Linked DNA regions of Homo sapiens: region 2 is linked to region 1. Evidence: promoter capture Hi-C in human tissues and cell types (Jung and others, 2019). All regions are on one chromosome and are shown on one strand. Each heading gives the region's core, a stretch centred on a gene start or on the middle of the fragment in contact. The rest is flanking DNA. Distances are from core to core; before and after follow the strand shown.

Evidence for each region. The method cuts DNA at HindIII sites, captures the fragments that hold promoters and counts their contacts. A contact is called where the count stands out against the background at its distance.
Region 2: a fragment that was not itself captured here is called in contact with the fragment with the promoter of NUP107 in region 1 in 1 of the 25 tissues and cell types used here (IMR-90 fibroblasts).

The regions. Positions count from the first base shown.
Region 1 is chr12:68,684,920-68,690,256 of GRCh38, reverse strand. NUP107 (nucleoporin 107) reads right to left here and starts at 3,279. Exons shown (of 28, transcript NM_020401.4): 1 at 3,184-3,279; 2 at 1,204-1,295; 3 at 638-724. The coding sequence starts at 3,191. It overlaps LOC100507250 (a long non-coding RNA gene), which reads left to right and starts at 3,398. Exons shown (of 3, transcript NR_038930.1): 1 at 3,398-3,520; 2 at 4,240-4,394. It also overlaps the pseudogene RPL7P42. The HindIII fragment of the contact is 7,944 bases long and covers 462-5,337 here.
Region 2 is chr12:68,414,426-68,419,762 of GRCh38, reverse strand. No RefSeq gene overlaps it. Among named protein-coding and RNA genes, the nearest start is that of LINC02384, 34 kb to the left of the region's middle. The HindIII fragment of the contact is 7,779 bases long and covers 1-5,337 here.

The DNA.
Region 1 (5,337 bases), core at 2,030-4,529:
CCCAGTTCCATTATTTACATACTCTTTTTTTTCTGTCTCAGAACAAAAAAAGAGTATGTAAATAATGGAACTGGGATTTTTTTTTTTTTTGCTCTGTCGCCCCAGCTGGAGTACAGTGGCACAATCTCAGCTCACTGCAACCTCTGCCTTCCGGGTTCAAGCAATTCTCCTGCCTCACCCTCCGGAGTAGCTGGGATTACAGGCATGTGCCACCACGCCAGCTAATTTTTGTATTTTTAGTAGAGATAGGGTTTTGCCATGTTGGCCAAGCTAGTCTTGAACTCCTGGCCTTAAGTGATCCACCCACCTTGGCCTCCCAAAGTGTTGAGATTATAGGCATGGGCCACTGCATCCAGCCTATTTACATACTTATTGTATATATTAGTTAACTTCTCTAAGTCTCACTTTCAGTTTTGGTAAAACAGGGCCAACAATACCCATGTCATAGTTACCGTGTGTTTATGGAAAGTACAGTACCTTGTACATGGCAAGAGTTCAAACGAATAATAACTGCAATCATTATTATTAGTGCTTATTGATATCGTAACCAAATACTATACTAATTATGTTACAATAAATGTTAGTTGCTATTATAATTACCGTTATTATTAAATGCTTTAAAAGCAAAAAATCTTACAAGGCTGTCGAAATGAGCTAGGAGTTCGAGGGATAACCTGGTTTCTTGGTGTAGTATTACCAAAATTTTCATCTTGAGATGCCTGAACTGTACAACGAGTTAAGAAAAGTTTTCCATGTAGAAAAGAGATCACTAAAATGAGAATTAACCATCTTTTTACTATACAAATTATGTGAATACATTTTTCAAGAACAAGTATTTTAGGGCTACCATTTTTCAATGCAAAGGGTAAATAATTCATTGCTTCTGCCATTTAAATGATCAGATGTCAGTCTTAGATAACTACACACTGAACTAAATGTTTTTAGTCAGTTTTCAAATAATAAAAAGAAATCTAATCTCAGCAGAAGCTGTCAGCAGTAAGAAATATCTTTATTTTTAGGGAAATACGATCTCATTAAATTTTTGCATTATATTTACCAAATGACAGCTCTGTGGAGTGAAAAAAAGTTTCTACAGGATTTTATTATAGCTACCATTTAATACTCTTATAAAAAGAAAATTCTACAACACTGATTCCAAACATGTTACAATTTTTATAATGATGCTTAAATCGCAAAGGATACGTAAAACTCTTTTCTGAGCACTCTGTTTCCGTGCAGTCCGTGTCACCTCTGCCTCCCGGATTACAGGGGATGATATCTCTCCAAAGCCACTCCTAAAGTAGTATAATCAAGCTTATATAAGTGAAACGAGAATATAGCATTTATAAAGAATTTTATCATCACAGTTGGAGTAAAGGACCCTGAGTAAGTTAAGGTATAGTCATTCTAGTAGCCAAGTCTTAGATCTTTTGTTGAGAACGCACTCCTGGCTCCAAATCCTGCTTATTCTTCAAAGCCTTACTCAAATCTTACCTGCACAAAGACTTCTCTGACTTTCTAGTACTCACTATGTTATTTTCTCCTAAGGAATTATTTCAACACTTGGAATCTATATTATAACACTGTTTTAGATAATTGCTTCATGAAAGTGAATCTTATTTCCCTTGTTGGATTGAGGAGTTACCTAACTGCAGGAATTCTCTCTTAAAAGATTTTCTGCAGTCTCCAAAATGCTTTAAACCATGGGTACTATTAAAAAACAAACAAACAACAACAACAACAAACAGAGCTTGCAACAACAACAACAAACAGAGCTTGTGAGATAGAAGGGTAAGTAAAAGAATTGTGGTAAATTGGAGCAAAATGACCCTTCAAGTTATTTCAACCCAGGAGGTCTCCTGTCCCATCACAACACTCCCTGTCAGTTTCACTCAAAGGTCTAGAAACTAAATTGTGCGGACTAAAAGGCCTGTGTTTAAGACAAGAATCTAATATGCTTTTCCTCCACTTAAAACCTTCAGATATTCCTTCAGCAGGAAAGTATGGGAAACAACCACATAGAAACAATTTTAAACGTTTAACAATTAAAATTAAAAACAAAAAAAAAAACCTTCAGATAGCTCTCTGGTCTATAGAAGTAAAAATTTCCTAAAATGATATTTACAATGTGACCCCAGTTTAGGGGTTCAGTCTTCTATTCAGCCACAAACATCACTTTAAACGTATACTGCATGTGACCACTGAGCTACACGTACTTTTTTTTCATATCCTAGCACCTCTGAATATGCTTCTTTTACAAAGACCTACATTTGCCCCCTTGAGCACCTGGTCAACAACTACTTACTCCTCAAAGAGCCTCAGGTAGGCTGGAGACACACAGATGCAGGTTGGCAATTTGGTTCTTGTATTTATTAGCTTCCGAACTTTCAGCAAGTTCCTTAACCTCTTTTAGTCTCAGTGTTATATATGAAAAAAGGATAACAGTACCCATCTCATAGGATTTTTCTTGTTCTGAAGATTAAATAAGCTAATAATATATATTCAACGCCTTTAGAACAATGGCAGTCACATAGTAGGTACTCAATGTTTGGAGTACGAATAATGTACTCTTATTATTCAAAGACCAGCTAGAAAGTTACCTTCTTTGAGGGGTCTTCCTGATAGTTACAGTGACAAGGAGACTTAATCGCCCCCAAACACTTACCACTTTACACTGCTTGGTTGTCTCCATTACACAACTAATTCCCCGAGGGGAAGGATCTTGAATAACTGATCTTTGTTGTAGGCGGCTAGCACAGTACCCAGATCATAGAGGGAACTCAGAATCTGATGCTGGCACTTGTAATCAGAAAGTCTGGGCTGAGATCCCAGTATCTTCACTGACTGGCTTTGTGATCTCAGGCTGGTCACTTAGCATTTCGAACGCCGCGCTACCTACCCCGCCCACCCCAGGAGCGAACAGTGTTGCTGCCCCAAAGCGCCGAATAGATCGCAGAACGTAGTGGGAAAGTAAGGGACTATTATGATCTGTACCCCACCCCGACGCACGCCAAGCGGCTTTTTCCCCATTTGTGGCCAAATTTCCCGGCATGGGGAAGGAGCCTTAGGGGAAGCACCCGGGACCTCCTTGGCTTCTTCTGGGAGTCTAGTTTCACCTATTTCGTTTCGCCAACAGGCGAGACGGGCAAGACTTCGGGCTCAGCTGCCACCATCAGTACTGACCTGTCCATGGCTAAAGCCTTTTCCACACACAACCAAAGTTGGCTGCAGTTTAGCTACCGCGTTTTAGCCTTCCCGCTCTCCGGAAGCAAGCCCTTCGACCCGGAAGCAGTCTGTCCCTAAAACAGACCCACAGAAAAGGGGTAGGGGAGAAGAAACAACGTTCCCATCTAGCGCATGCGCGACTTCAGCCTACAGGTGCACGCCCGGTGGGCGCAGGCGCAAAAGTTTGCCAATGTGTTCCTGGTTGCGTTTAGCCCAGACGCCCTGCGGCCGCTTTGCCTGACCAAAGTCTGTGGGCGTGGAACAGGCCCTGGGTTCTCCTACTGGGAAGAATGAAGTATGTTGATAGTCTGGAAAAATGTGAAGTCATTTCCTGGTATTCTCTGTCAGAAAGCGCCTGTTCTTGGAATTCAGATGCGTGGGCTCTGCCCCACACCTCGGGGATCTCTATCTCTCTGCCTACACTCAGTCCTTTGTTCTGTAGCCCCCTGCAGTTTTTGCAACTATTTTCCATAACTGCTATTTGTTCTTTACTTGGTGTTCTTTCCTATTAAGGAGAAAAAGTTCACCTGTATTAAAAAGTAGAAAGGCAAGCGTGAAATATGATGGTATTGCCCTCTATTTCAAAGTGCCGTCTAGGCAAAAAGTGGTGTATTTTGGTCTTGAAGGAGTCAGTCACATTTTTGTTTTGGTTTTTGTTTTTTCCAGTTTGAAAGTAGTGACTGGCTATTAACTGACCAGATTACAAAAATAATGTTAGATGCTTCAGTTTATCCGTTTAATAAGCCTGTTGATATAGTCTTTTCTGTTGCTGGCATTTATACCTTTTATTAATACAAAATAGGTAGTCCTTCATTCTCCCTCGTGGAGAAGATAATTTGAAGGATCACAGGAACTTGAGTTTTTCAACAGCATAGATCTCATGAATCAGATTCTCCAGTCAGATGATGCCATATTTATCAGGAAATCTAGCAATCAAAGCGTTATCTGTTAAGGTAATTTGTTTATTGATTTTGCCATAACCAATTTGTAGATCAGTTCATTTACTGATTTCAGGTTCAGGTACTCCATGTGATATATGGTTCCACAATCCTCAGCGTGTTAACTGAAGCCTTGTTGAGTTTAACAAAGCTGCCATTGAAGATCTGGGGAAAGTGAAGAAGTTGCAACAGAGTTTTGGGCTCACACCATTGATACATTTGATCCTTAAGGCAAGTGACAATTTGGGTTTCACAGGTATATAGAAATTGCCAGCTTTTCTTGCCATATATTTCTTGTGACAGTGCTGAGCTTTTTTTTTTTACTTCTTGCTTGCTTTTTTTTGGACTTGATTTTTTAAATTATGTTTCCTTCCTTCCTTCTTTCTTTGTTTTTTTTTTTTTTGAGACAGGATCTTGTCCTATTGTCCCGGCTTACGTGCAGTGGCACAGTCACGGCTCACTGCAGCCTTGACCTCCTGGGCTCCAGCAATCCTCCTACCTCAGCCTCCCTAGTACCTGAGGTTGCTGGGACCACAGGCACGCACCACCATGCCTGACCTCCTCTCCTCCCCCGTTTTTTAAAAATATTTTGGAGAAATGGGGTCTTATGTTGTTGCCCAGGCTGGTCTCAAACTCTTGGGCTCAAGCCATCCTCTTACCTGGGTCTCCCAAAGTGCTGGGATTACAGGGGTTAGCCACCACATCTGACAGTGCCTAGCTTTTTCATAGATGTAGCTTTCTCCTTGCTTTTCTTTTTCTTTTTTTTCGAGATGGAGTCTCATTCCATTGCCCAGGCTGGAGTGCAGTGGTGCCATCTCGGCTCACTGCAACCTCTGCCTCCTGGGTTCAAGCGATTCTCCTGCCTCAGCCTCCTGAGTAGCTGGGATTACAGGTGTCTGCCACCACACCCGGCTAATTTTTGCGTTTTTGGTAGAGATGGGGTTTCACCATGTTGTCCAGGCTGGTCTTGAACTCCTGACCTCAGGTGATTCACCTGCCTCAGCCTCCCAAAGTGCTGGGATTACAGGCGTGAGCCACTGCGCCTGGCCTTCTCCTTTCTTTTCAAAGCATTTTATGGGCAAACTTCTTTCTCAGGCACTTGACCTTTAGCTCTGTGAAATTCCTTCATGTGTTTTATTTTTATTTTTTGAGACAGAGTCTTGCCCTTTTGCCC
Region 2 (5,337 bases), core at 1,823-4,322, 270 kb after region 1:
TTTATTTTTATCTATTATTATTATGATTTTTAGAGGCAGGGTCTCACTCTGTTGCCTAGGCTGGAATGTGATGGCGTGATCAAAGCTCACCACACCTTCAAACTCCTGGGCACAAGCAACCCTCCTGTCTCAGCCTCTCCAGTAGCTGGGACTATGGATGCATGCCACCATGCCCAGCTAATTAAAAAAATTTTTTTTTTTTTTTTAGAAATGGGGTCTTGCTGTGTTGGCCAGGCTGGTCTTGAACTCCTGGCCTCAAGCAACCCATCAGCCTCGGCCTCCCAAAGTGCTAGGATTACAGGTGCAAGCCACTGCACCTGGCTGCTTTTTCTGAAATTCTTTTAGGATAATTACATGTATACATGCACATAGTTATATGCACATGAATGTACATACACACACACAGACATTTTCTTTCTCTGTTTTACAGAGGGAGCTCAATGCAGAAAATAAAGCCAAGGCTTCAACTTTGGTCGAGTAAAGTAGCTTTCAAAAAATTTTAACCTCCACAACTGCCACTTATACGTACCTCTATATAAAACAACACACAAATTTTCAATAAACAATATTTATCTTCACTGCTGGCACTATTGTGTTCAGGTCTGTTCCATTCTCTTTCATTTAAAAAAAATGCTGGCCAGGTGTGGTGGCTCACGCCTGTAATCCCAGCACTTTGGGAGGCTGAGGCGGGTGGATCACAAGGTCAGGAGTTCAAGACCAGCCTGAGCAACGTGGTGAAACTCCCTCTCTACTAAAAATACAAAAAATACAAAAGTGCAGTGGTGTGATCTCAGCTCACTGATCACTCATCTTCGCCTCCCCAGTTCAAGCAATTCTCCTGCCTTAGCCTCCTGAGTAGCTGGGATTACAGGCATGTGCCACCACGCCCGGCTAATTTTATATTTTTAGTAGAGACGGGGTTTCTCCATGTTGGTCAGGCTGGTCTCGAACTCCTGACCTCAGGTGATCCACCTTCCTCAGCCTTGCAAAGTGCTGGGATTAGAGGCATGAGCTTTATAAATTTTAACTCATTTAGTACACATAACCACTCTAACCACTCTAGATAGTAGACTATACTATAATTACTCCAGGGGAAGAATTGCCTGTTCTTTGTTTCCAATATCTAGCCAGAATCCAGAAGACTTGCATATTATAGAAGCTGGGCTAAATACTTAAGTAGAAATGAGAATAATATTATGGAACAAGCAATTGCTTTCATAAGTCCTGATGGGCAAACAATAGCCAAAGATGGTGACCACAAACCTCGAATCAGCAAACCTGAGACTTGGCATATTGCTGTAGTTAGGCTGAAATTATTTGTGATGTACTGCAAACTTTTGTTGTAAAACATAACATAAAAATTTAGTCACATGTAAACATTCACCCAGAGAAAATTTCTGTAACATTTGTTGTTTTATCCTGATCTTAATGCAGGATAAAACAACAAGGGGCCAGGGCACCCCACCTGCCTATCACCCTTTGTCACCACCATCACCACCACCCACAGAAAGAACAGCCTGGTGTCTGAAATGATGGGTAAAGAATTGCTTGTAAACTAAAAAGAGAAAACTCAAATGTCTACCTGTTTAGTTAATAGAGTTTTAAATATTTGACAACCTTCATTCTTCTCTCATTATAAAAGTAAAATGATGTTCACTGTTAAAATTCTGAAACATGCAGTGAAATGTAAAAATGAAAATATAAATGACCCCAAGTATCACCACCTACACACAGCAGCTATTCACACTTGGTGTAGTGTGAGTGTGTTTAGGCCTTCAGACATGTTTCATTTGGCTTACCCAGTGTTTTAAAATGTTTTTCATTATAAAAACCTGGATTTCCAGTATCTCTTGAAAAAATACCAAGATCTGACAACACTTGGTCCACATTCTTGCACAACAGCTGCTGAGAGCTGAGTAGCTGCTGCCCCTCTTGGGCAGGGCAGGGCTTAAGTATTTCCTCCACCAGAGTCCCCACCGTTCCCATTTTTCTTACACTTGGTCAGGTTCATTTACTTGTTATTCTCATATTCTGGTGGGCATTTGAGTTTTCTCTCTTTCAGTTTACAAGCAATTCTTTACCCAGCATGTCAGGGATCAGGCTGTTCTTTTTGTGGGTGGTGGTGATGGTGATAGTGGTGACAAAGGGTGATGGGTAGGTGGGGTCCTCTGGTCCCTTGTTACAGAGGGTGGGGGAGCAGAAGTCTTTTATTTCTGGATTCTGCTCTTTCTTTTCTAGTATACTTAACATTTTAAAAAAGCTCCATATGTAGAGGATTAATTTCTTTTCCTTCCTTTCTTTCTCTTTCTTTCTTTCTTTCTTTCTTTCTTTCTTTCTTTCTTTCTTTCTTTTTTCTCTTTCTTTCTTTCTTTCTTTCTTTCTTTCTTTTTCTTTCTTTCTTTCTTCCTTTCTCTCTTTCTTTCTTTCTTTTTTTCTTCTCTCTCTCTCTTCCTTTCTTTTTTTTTTTTTTTTTTCGAGACAGGCTGGAATGCAGTGGTGTGAATCTCGGCTCACTGCAGCCTCCTCCCGGGGTCAAGAGATCCTCCCACCTCAGCCCGAAAGTGGCTGGGACTACAGGCATGCGCCACCACAGCCGCCCGGCAAATTTTTGCATTTTTTTGTAGAGATGTGGTTTCGCCATGTTGCCCAGGCTGGTCTCAAACTTCTGGGCTGGAGCAATCTGCCTGCCTTGGCCTCCCAAGGGATGAGCCACTGCACCCAGCCCATCCACTAAATCTTTAAATGAAAAACTGCCACTGGCCTCTGCAGTCCATACCTGGAATTTTTTCTAGGCCACTGGCTTTTAATTTTTTTTAAAACTATCACTCACAATGAGAAGTCAGTTCTACAAAATGACTCAACATATACATGTTTACAACAGAAAAAAATGTTTCACAGAACAATCACTTGCCCTTTATGTGATATACACTGGTAAGTTCATTCTCTTCTAATATAATTAAAAAAATAAACGGGTCATGACCCATTAAATTGATGTAATAACTCTCCTACAGGTCATTACTCTTGGTTCGAAATACAGCTTTCTGGGACAATTTCTGGTTTACAACTTAGGACTTCAGCTTTTCTCTTTCCCCGACCCATTCAAGTCTCGCATGCCATTCTTCAATAATCCCTTTAAGCCAATGACTTGTTTGGATCTGCTCACCTGGATTTGACTGTCCCCACCCTCTACACCATGACTTCTAGACTTCAGCTCAGTCATGGGCACCACCCAGTCCCTGTTGTGCCCCATCCAGCTTGTGCGGGGCCTGTCTTGGGTTGGCATCATCTCTCTCTATGCGTTGTTCCTACTTGACAGGGATGGGAACTATGGTAGAGGATGAAACTTCTTGTCATGCTGAGAAGAGCATTACCTACCATCATTAAGAAAGGCTGTACCTAGAGTACTCGTACCCCAGATACTCACATGTCGGCTCCCTCATTTCCTTCAGCTTCAGTTCTACTGTCCCCTCCCCAGAAAGGCCTTTCTTGACTATGGCACCTCACCTAGAACCGTGGTCTCATCTGTTCCCTCACCTTGCTTTAGCTTTTCTTTTTAGCTCTTATAGAGGGTCTGGCTGTAGGAGTCATAGAATGTAAAAGCAGGGAGAGATTTAGAGACCAGCTATGATTCAAGCCTCTAATTTTATAGAGAGGAAATGCAAGTCCAGAGAGATAAGTAAAGAGTCCATGGCATCCTAGATTATTCATGGCAAATCTGAACTAGAAACCAGATCCCTGGGTACTTGTCAGTTCCTCACTGGTTATGATGAGGTTTTTTTTTTTGTTTTTTTTGTTTTTTTAAACTCTGTCTTATAATAAGCTCTAGGATACATGATATTAGACTGTATTATACTTAGTAGTAAATAGTGGTATGAAAATGTTCTGCTTGCAGGTTTCATTTTACTCTGAAACACACACACACACACACACACACACACTGAAGCATAATGAGGTAGGTGACATAGATACCACCTCAATTAAATAAAGTGCAATATCAAAGGGAAAATGTTAGGTACCAAGATTCAGGAGACTAACTGCGTTGGTACCCAGAAATTTCATACAGGCAAAGACTTGAATTTAAGGCTCCAGCGAGGCACAGGGTTTGATGATGAATGGATGACGAGGAGATAGAAGCTTGTGTCACAGGATTTGATAAAGGAGAGAGAGGGGGTACACAGCAGCATAACTAGGGTACAACTGTTTGTTTTTGGAATAACCTTCCAAACTAGGGGGGAAGGTAGTTCAATCCACAGTTGGTAACTTTTGCATATGCAGGAACTGGGTGTTTTGGGGAGTTCTAGAAGCTCTTCCATATAGTACTTTTCAGTCCTAAACACTTTGTAGATTCCCACAATACAAAAGTGTTGGGGATTAGTGGAAATTTATATTTTTTAATGTTGGCAGTCCTGTATCTAGTCACTATCTTTTGGCAATGACATTAATATTCTTCTTTTGAGGAATTGCTTCTCTCTCATTGGTTGAATTCTGGTGGGACTGTTTTGCCCTGACTACCCTTAGCCAGGTGGAAACTGTAAAACCCAAGCTAATCTAAAAGGGAACTGAATCTCAATCAGTGTGACAGAGACGGAAAATAGCTAAAGCTCACATATTCTAGTAACACTAGACAAAGCAACACTCTGTCTAGACTATGGGAATATTCTCGCTACACAGACCCTGACATGGCCTTACTGTTTGTCATCTGCTGGCCTGGTTCTCTAGCCTTCCCTTTCATGTGAACTCTCCCATATCCTCCTAGTAAATTTCCTTCTGTTTAAGCTAGCCATTGTAATTTCTGATGCTGACGAAAAAACCCTTAATTACAATGGACAATCTGACCTGGGATATCCAAACACCACTTTCCACCAAATCTATATAGTAAGGGTCATCTCAATAAACATTTATTCATTCCCTACAATATGCCAGGTGGTATGCCAGGGGCTATCTTCTAGGTTATCTAATTTAACTTTGTAACAATACCACAAAATAGGAATTATCATTTAATTTTAGATGGAAATACCAAGTGTCTTAGTCCATTCAGGCTGCTATAACCAAATACCGTAGACAAGGTGGCTTAAGATCAATGGAAATTTATTTTTCACAGTTCTGGAGGCTGGGAAGTCCAAGATCAAGGCCCCAGCTGAGTTGGTGTCTGGTGAGGGCTCACTTCTTGGTTCATAGACAGTCATCTTCTCTCTGTGGTCTCACATGGTGGAAGGGGAAAGGGTGCTCTCTGGGGTCTCTTTTATAAGGGCACTAATCACAAGGACTCCAACCTTATGATCTAATCACCTCCCAAAGACCCCATTGTCTTTTTTTTTTTTTGAGACAGAGTCTCGC